Linked DNA regions of Homo sapiens: region 2 is linked to region 1. Evidence: promoter capture Hi-C in 16 types of primary human blood cells and fetal thymus (Javierre and others, 2016). All regions are on one chromosome and are shown on one strand. Each heading gives the region's core, a stretch centred on a gene start or on the middle of the fragment in contact. The rest is flanking DNA. Distances are from core to core; before and after follow the strand shown. Region 1 holds the start of C8orf88 (chromosome 8 open reading frame 88). Region 2 overlaps EMC2 (ER membrane protein complex subunit 2).

The links. Contacts are between HindIII fragments. The CHiCAGO score rates a contact against its expected background, and 5 or more counts as called.
Region 2: a contact is called between a fragment that was not itself captured here and the fragment with the promoter of C8orf88 in region 1, in 1 of 17 cell types (fetal thymus). The highest score is 5.6, in fetal thymus.

What each region holds. Positions count from the first base shown.
Region 1 is chr8:90,983,346-90,988,036 of GRCh38, forward strand. It overlaps C8orf88 (chromosome 8 open reading frame 88), which reads right to left and starts at 1,893. Exons shown (of 6, transcript NM_001190972.2): 1 at 1,769-1,893. RefSeq lists a silencer at 1,917-2,076. The HindIII fragment of the contact is 2,363 bases long and covers 1,170-3,532 here.
Region 2 is chr8:108,443,955-108,448,645 of GRCh38, forward strand. All of the region lies in intron 1 of EMC2 (ER membrane protein complex subunit 2), which reads left to right. Among named protein-coding and RNA genes, the nearest start is that of EMC2, 2.7 kb to the left of the region's middle. The HindIII fragment of the contact is 3,715 bases long and covers 98-3,812 here.

The DNA of each region.
Region 1 (4,691 bases), core at 643-3,142:
CACACACTTAACAAATCATCTTTAAAGACCAAGTTGTATGAATAGAATATTGGTAAATCAGTTAGTTATTTACAGTTGCTATTCTACACCTGGCAATACTAACTATATCTTAGGTTCCTTTTCTTTTTAAAAAATTTACCTAAGTATGAATCTTCAGGCCTTATCAGTCCTGATATTACCAGTAAACCTAGAATTGTCTAAAATACAATGGGATAATAAGCAGATACATTGACCACTTTGGCCAAAATCTTATTAATCTTATTTTTTAATTAAGATGCCTTTTTAAGGTCCTACTACATACTAAATATAATTTCATTTAATTTTGAGCCATATATGAACGGTGGAAGAAAATTATTATTAGTCCCACTTCACAGATAAGAAACCTGAGGCTCAGAAAAATAAGAGACATGCCCAAGTCCACATAGCTACTAAGTGCTAGATATTAGGATTTGACTACAAAGTTCACACCTTTATATCAAAACTTGCCTATTTGTTACATAAAAGAAAGATATCTGACTGTCCATTTATTACATGTGGACACTGCGTGTATAGATTTAAAAATTAATGTGAAAAGTAACATTTATTTATAAGGCCATGCAGAATAAATTGGTATATGCTAATAATATCCATTTCTTCAATTTACCATTTTTCTTAGAATACTAAATAAATTAGGGAGTACTGTGCTTTCCTCACGCTACAGACATGGTATACTGCCATACTAACCATAGATCACAGCATATGAAATATACTATGCACTGTTTTTAGAAGCTGAGTACTATACTTAAACTCCAATATAAATTCTAGTCTTCTTTGGAAAGTACTGATGCTACCGCTGCCGTTGAGAAATAAGATCATATAAAGTGAAATAATGAAATGAAAAGACCATATTTGAATTTACCTTGTGTATAATTCCCATATGATAACCAGATAAAATTTCATCTCAATTTCCAACTTCAAAACATTACAAAGTTAGGATTCCTTGAAACCCAATACTGCTTGTAAGTAAACTGCTCACACTGACAAAATGATAGATGAAGAGAAACATACAGGAAACATCGGGGAGTAAGAAATAAACCACCTATGACTCAAGTGGTGAAAGACATTTCACGTTCCATATATCTGGTTGCACTATTAAGGAAAAATTAAAACGAAAATATCAAAAAACTAGAAGCTTGGAGAGTTCCAACATATCTTCCATTTCATGCCTTCTCTTTATAACTAATTTAATTTTTTTTTTGGTCTATTTGAGGGATTTCTCAAAACAAAACACAATTTAACATTCGGATGGGCTAAAGCTGTCCAGGTAATAGGTGTCTGTGATTACTTTAGTCATGTAACTGTCCTTTCCGTAGCTTTGACTAAAACACCAGCAATGAAAACCTTGTGCCACCGGGTGGAGGGGGCAAATCGTCTTGAAAGCCTCCCACCGCCTGGCACCAGGTGCTGGGGCAGAGCCAAGGGGAGCTGTGTACTTAGCTCCTTTTTTGGCGATGGCTTTGGTCTCGGCCACTTGCCCCTCCGTCGGGCTCCCCTGGCCCCCTACACTTTCTTTCCCCTCATCCGACGCTCTCGCTCCCATCCCACTCCCATTCAGGGTCCACAGGGTACTGAAGGGGCCCTGAGAGATTTCCCGACCCACCTCAGAGCTTCTCTTCCTCGCCTCAACTTTCCCGGGGTCGGGCCTGGGAGACGGCGCCCACCCGCCTCCTCCACACCACGGGGCCCGACTTCCGTCCCCCAGTGTCGCTCATCCTCCCTAGCCACTTACCGACTCAAAATCCACGGGGATTTCGGGGCAGCAGCGTCGCCGCGCTCAGCCCACACGCGGAGGCCGAGCGCCCTGCTGCCCGTCGGGGAACGGCTCCTGCCGCTGGTCCGCTGGCTGACCGCGGTGGCGGCGGCGGGGGGCGAGGGGCGGGGGGCGAGGGGCGGGGGGCGGGGCGGGAGGCGGCTCCGAGGGGCACGAGGCGGGCCCAGGGCGGGCGCGGGGCGTGGCCTCGGGCGCTGAGCCTCGAGAGCAGCCGCACCCCTGCCGGGGTAGAACCGTTAAAAGGGTGGCGCGCGCTTTCCCGGGCGAGCTGGGCGCGTGGGGTTGGAGCGGCGCCACCCAGAGCCGGTCGTCTAGGGTAGGAGGCCGCGAGTGAGGCGCTGACAGGCTAGCCCTCGACGGGGCGCGCCCGCGTGAACGGCCTTGGGGGCCCCAGACCGTGGCCCTGCTTGTGCGAAGACTGGGAGGCGCCAGGCGGGCCGCCTGCTGGGGGCTTGGCGGCGGGTTCCAGGCAGCGTCTGTGAGGGAGGCCGCCTCTGTGAGGGAGGCCGCCGTCGTGCTGACGACTGAGTCCACCCTACTCCTGTCCCCCGTCAGAGCTGCTGGCAGGCGCTGCTTTCCCCTTGGTGCATTTAGTGGGTGTCGGGATTCGGGTTGGCAGGGAGGAAGATGTTTGAGACCTGGTTTACCTCAGACCAGGGATACAGCGTTTCACACAGACTGCCATCCTGAAAGGAACAAAATGAATTAAGGCAACTCCATCCGAATCATTTCTTTTTAATCTTCACCTTCAATCCTTTTGCTAATTTTTCATTATCTTTGAGTGTCCCCAGAGGGGGACTGTCTGCTTGTACTGAGGGACGTGGAGGTGGCAGTCCCTCACGTCCCCAAGCACCAAAAGGACAGTTGAAAATGCACTGGCAAACACTGAACGGTTTTAAGTGGGGCACTATCAGGATTTACCATTTTGGAAGGTATGAAGTTTCACAAGCACTTCCATGTATAGTCAAGTTATTGGAGCTGTCTCCGTTTAGAAATGGCTTCCAGAAACACTCCTACTATCCACTGAGACAACTCGCCTGGCATCAGAGACCTAGGGTCCAGGGTCAGAGATGGGTCATGATAAAAGGGCATCCCTTGGGGTGAGGCACCAGAAGTCTGCACAGTGGAATCAATATATTCCAACCACCAGATGTAGAAAATCTTAAGTGCAGGATGTGGTTCTCATCCATCTAGTCACAACAGAAGTTTTCTTCTTCAGGAATATACTTAACAATGAAGCATGTATAATTTTATATACATCTTACAATAAAATTATTTTGTGCATATCACTGTATGAAGTCAGTAGAAACTATTGTGACAAAAATGTAAATTGGAAGAATTCCAATTCAGATCAGTATTAGTAATTTATTGAGAGGAAGAGAGAAATTAGACTAGACAGACTCCTTGATTTTTTGATAATTGAGGAAGAAAAATGAACCATATAAACATATCGAAACTTTTCAAAATCTTATTGATAATGACATAAAATTTTGGCATCTACAAGGATAATCTAGAATTCATACCTTTACAACAAGAACTTGACAACAAACAGGTTAATGACTTTTAGCAACTTAAAGGTTAGTCACTGCCTGAGAAAACTTGAAGTGCCCTGAAATCACAGAGTTCACCTAAGAACCTTAAGATGAGTTTCCCCAAATTTAGCAATACTAAAAATTGGCATTATTACCAATAACAAATTGTGAAACTGCAATAACTTTTTTAAGCTTTCAATAACAAAAAATACATGTTGACTAACTTTGCTTTGAAAAGACTACCACATTATTCATTATCACCAGGGAAAGTGCATTACAAAATTACTGTCAAATGATGAGGCAATAAAAAAATGAAAACTAAAAATATAGGAAAAACATAGCAATGGTTCAGGTAGTTAATTTAAAATATCATTTTACTGAATTTCTAAAATATTTGTGGTATTTATCATCTTTTTAAAAATCTGTAATTTGTTGTCACTGATTTTCTTATTCTAAGTAAATATTTACTTTGGTCACCGCCCCCCATCCCTGCTTCCTGCCCTGCTCTGGCCACTCAAAGAATTGGAGAATGGATTGAGAAAAAGCAACAGTGGAAATAGATATCCCAGTTAGAAGGATAATAATTTATAATGTGTCTTACTACTTATAAGTAGAGGTTTTATTTAAACTTATATTTTCATATTTTATTTAACTCCACTTTCACAGTACCTAGAACTACACACACACACATACAAACTGGTTACTTGATCTCATGGTATGTGCTGTTTAGTGAGGGTGCAGATATGCAAACAGACAATTTCAACTCAGTAAATTAATTGTTAAATCTGGGTGGTGCCACTGAAAGCCTGGCAACTCAGAAAGCTGAAGAGGTAGCATTATCTCATGTTTACCAAATGATTTCCTTGCCAACCTCCTGCCAATAGTCGCCTTTTATTCATTTATTCCTCAAACATTTACGAAGCATTTTATGAAGGATACACTAACAAACACACAACACAGATGCTCATAATTATTATAGGAATGTGTTAAAACAGTGGTCCCCAACATTGTTAGCACCAGGGGCTGGTTTCGTGGATGACTGGAAGGGCGGGGTATGGTTTTGGGATGAAACTGTTTCACCTCAGATCATCAGGCATTAGATTCTTATAAGGAGCACACGACCTAGATCCCTCGCATGTGCAGTTTACAATAGGGTTCACACTCCTATGGGCCACTGTTGATCTGACAGGCAGCAGAGCTCAGGCAGTAATGCCAGCAATGGGGAGGGGCTGTAAATGCAGATGAAGCTTCAGTCACTCACCTGCCACTCACCTCCTGCTGTGTGGCTTGTTTCCTAACAGGCCAATGACCAGTACCAGTCTGGGGTCTGGGGGAGGGCAGTGGTTAGA
Region 2 (4,691 bases), core at 705-3,204, about 17 Mb after region 1:
TTATTTATGAGGCGGGCGGGAGGGACTTGGGGCTGGGGTTGTCGCACGCTAACTGGTTGCTGGGCGGTGCGGAAGAGGCGGAATAGGTGGTTACTGAAGCTTCTTTGGAGCCAAGAAACACAGGGCCTGTAAGGCCCTTTACTAAGTGGTGTGTAAGGATTACAGCTCTGTGCAGAAAAGCTGTGTAAAAGATGCGTGAACAAATGTGATTCTCATATGCCACTCTACATTTAGTTTTCTTCTTAAACCCGGGTTTCCAGTTTCTTTTCCTTTTAGTCTAGTCTCTGTCCCACTCCTTCTCAAAACACATTTACACACACAACACAACTTCTTTCTTACTCCCTACTAGTAGTTTCTTTTCTGAAGGGAAAAATAACTAATTAACTCTGGGCTACGTAAGTGCTTACGTGTGATGGTCACTTTTCCCTATCCTTAGTTGATCTAGAGTGGGATATGTTCTTTAAATCTGGGAACAGCCAAACCTTGGATCAATTCTGTGTGCTTAAGAAACTTGAGTTTCATTAAGGCGTGGAATTTGTGTAATTGGAATTCATATTCCCAGCATTTAACATAATACAGGAGACTTCAGTAGCTAATTTGCTTAACGAATGCCTTCTTGGGATGTTTTAATAATGACCTGAAAACATGTGGACCGAAAGTTGTATTTTCTGTTTTATCGTGAATAAATATATCAGTTATTATAAAGTTGTAAATCCGTTACAAATAAAGCAAAATTTCTTTGTACTTGAACTGAATTAAATGATTTATTGACTTTATGGCCTCTAGCACGTTGTGAATCTCAGTATTTATACCTGAATTGAGGGATTCCATTATATTAAACAACAGTGTTGATTTCTTACTGCAAAATCTTGGCTCTGTCAACACACAGTCCCCACTTCCAAGGAAGTCACAATCTAATGGAGAAAACAAACCTGTAAACACACAGTTTTAAAAGGCTTGTGTCAGGGTATCTTCCGTAAGCTGAGTCGTAGATAAATGGATGTTATTTTTAATGCTTTTTAAAAAATGTTTTAAATATTACATAATTTTTAGAAAATGCTATTATGAAGGTATGTTCATTATAGGTTTCCTAGATGATAGTAGCATATATAAAATCCTGAGGGACGAGTAGCTGTATACTACCAACAGACAAGGTGATTTAACTGAGTAATTGGACCTTACCCTGTGGTCATTCTAAAGAGGATTGATGTAATTAATTTGGAATAATAAATAATAACTACTACACAAATTTGTAGGAACAAAGAAAACATTTTAAAGTGCTTTGTAAACTGTTAAGTACTATATAAAAGGATGTGTTACTATTAGCTAGTGCTAATATGATTATGTCCTTCCTCTGTATGATCTGGCGGTTGCCCATGTCTCCAGCTTTATCTTGAGCCCTTCTCCCTCTCACTTTGTGAGCTGCCTATGCTGGCCTTTGTTGAATACCCTAAATTGCCATGCTGCTTCTTAAAGCTGGCACATGCTAGTCCTTCCACTGGGAGTGTTCTTCCCTCCTTGCCTCACTCTTGCCCCCATTAAACTTTATCATTTATCAATTCCCCACAAAGCTCACCTACTACAAAAAAGCCTTACTTGACCACTCTACTACCCCCTTCCCTTTCCTCATCCCCCACCAAAATTGAAAAAAAAAACCCAAACAATAAAATGAAGCAACAAAACACACCTGCAATCCTTCGATTATGTATTCTATTCTAATACTATTGAAGCACTTACCCAATTGTGTTTTGTTTTAAAATTTTGTCTCTCCTAAGATGAAAGGGACCAGGCCTGTTTCTTCACTGTCACTTCCCTAGAGCCTGACACATGGGGGCGGAGCTCAGTAATTATTTGATGACTAAATGAATTGTTAATGAGATTAATAATAAACACTAACACATTGTCAGAAAAGATTATAAGCCATTTTTCTAGCGTTGAAATAATTTCTTTAGTATCTTAGATACAGGTTTTAGTATCATTCTTCTCTTAGCTTGAAAATGACCTTTTTAGAGAAGCCTTCTCTGACCACCCTTTCCAAAAGCTCCTCCTTTCTCCCAATCTCCTGACTTTATCATATGGTCTTTTAGTTTTATTTGTATAATTTCACTATCTGAAGTTATGTGGATTTTCATCTTTTTACCCTATTATACTCTAAGCATTATGAGTATATAGGAACTTTATCTTTTTCTTTCTTTCTTTATCCTCAGTGCCCAGATCAGGCCTGGCACATAGGCATTTAGGAAATATTAGTTGAGTGATGAAGAACTCCAATATTTACTCCAAGAAGTAAATATTAGTGGAATAATGAAGTATAGTTCCAGTCATACACTATACTGCCTCAAAGAAGGTAGGAATCATTGGGTATCTTAAGAATTTACATTGTAATGAAGTAAATCTTTAGAAATATCTGGTAGTAATTTACAGATTGAATTTGGGTTGAGAGATCAGTTTGGAAGCTATCCTAGCAATTTTAGCATGGGGTGATGAAAGCCTGGGCATGGATAATAGCAGTGGAAATAGAGTAGAAGATGTAAATCTTCGAAATACTTCGAAATACTTCAAAACAATCCACAGGACTTAGATATACAAAACTCCCACAGTGGGAGTCAGAAACAGCACTAAAAAATGGAATGTCAGGTAGTATTAACAGAAGGTGGAATTAACAGAAATGTGAACATTGGGAAGGGAGGCCATATTTTTAGGAAATGAAGATGACTTGATTTTCGGATGCTGTGATTTTGAGGTAATGAGCTATCAAAGGTGAAAACATGTTTTCTTCAAGATGGTTTTATTTTTACAAATAATTTTTTTAGATAAATGTATTTAAGGCATTTCTAAAAGTAGTATGTGGTTAATAGTGCTACAAATGTATTTATTACAGCAGCACTCAAGAGTGTGGCAGGGTCAGCTATGTAAGGTGTATAGCTTAAGGTGTTTATAGGTAAAATGTTGCTTGTTTTGTAAGTTATATTTTCATACACAGTGTTTCTTGTTTTGTGTTCAGCTATTATATTTTAATATGTGACTGTGTGTCAGACTGCCGTTCTTAGAAGTTATGCTTTAAAAAAAGTTCTCTTTCCTATGAGTGTTTTTTCACAATAAGAAACACCTTTTACAAATTAACTCATACTCAATTAAGTATACCTATACATGAATCTTTGAGTGTATGTATAAACTGAAACCAAAGTTGCATTTACAAAGGATTCTAATGAGTATTGCTTCCATTCTGTTCATTTTGTTTCATTCTCCCCCACTGCCCCCCCACCCCCAACAGATGCTGGAAGAAATCCACTGAACCGATTTTATACCCTATTAATGGATTGTAATACACAGTTTGAAAAATACGTCTTCTGGAGCTCTGTGTGCATTAAAATAAATTAACCCTTTCCTTTTTCAAATCAGGTTGCCTTTTCTTTTAGAATAGCTGTTCCCAACAGCCTGCAGCCAATCTGACTAGATACTTTTATGGGACCATGAATAATTTAAAATTTATTATCCTGTAATTATCAACCTTTTAAAAGAATATGCTGGTTTATGTAAATGAATCTGTAAGTGGTATTTCCGAATATATAAAAAAATGAAGTGGAAAAGATACAGGATTGGAGGAAGTAGTTTTGGACTAAAGAAATCATAATTAAGTAGCAGGCATATTTTTCCATCTTTCAGAGGCCACCTCACTGCAGTGACATCTCATGCAAGTTGTCATGGAAGGAATAAACAGAACAATCATAGCGACTCTCTTAACCTTTGACCTTTAGCTCATCTCACAGGATTGCACAGTAGTTAATAAAATGTACAAGCAAGCAGTGAGAAGCTTACTTACATAGTATGTAATAAAATGACCTTGGCTTTGAGGAGCGAGCTTTTTGCAGGAAGGTGAAAGGGTAAAATGAAAGTTTTAAGCCACCTTTGAGGAAAGAGTGAGGGAAGAGCCTTTATTTCTTGTGAGAGGCTGAAACAGTTACCAGATTTTTTTAAAAAATAAAAGTAACTAGAATTTTTGTAGGGCTTCACATTTTATAAAATGCTTTACACGAATTTTCTAGTGTTTGGTGTCCTAAACTCAAGGGCCAAGCAGATGAAAATACATGTAGTTGGGTGAAAGACAATAGTGGTGCCTGTGAAGAACTGGTAAGTGTATACCCTTATCTAAGGGTAATCAAAATCAACTTAAAAACAAAAATATCCAAACTATTGTACGAACCAAGCAACTTTATATATATTTTATGTAATCTTAACTGCTCATCCCTGAGCTAAAGGTAATATTATCTCTATTCATTGGTATTGGAAACTAAGTACAGATTCGGTAAGTTATGTAAGGTCATGTAAAAGATGGAGTTTAGATTCAAACCAAGTGTATCAAGTCCATGTTCTTTCCAGTATACTATACGTCCTCTATGACTGGTGATATGGTTTGGCTCTGTGTCCCCACCCAAATCTCATCTTGTAGCACCCATAATTCCCATGTGTTGAGGAGGAGACCCACTGTGAGATGATTGAATCATGGGGACAGGTCTTTCCCATGCTGTTCTCATTATAGTGAATGGGTCTCACAAGATCTCATGGTTTTAGAAACAGGAGTTTCTCTACACAAGCTCTCTTTCTTTGCCTGCTGCCATCCACGTAGGATATGACTTTTTCCTTCTTGTCTTCTGCCATCATTGTGAGGCCTCCCCAGCCACGTGGAACTG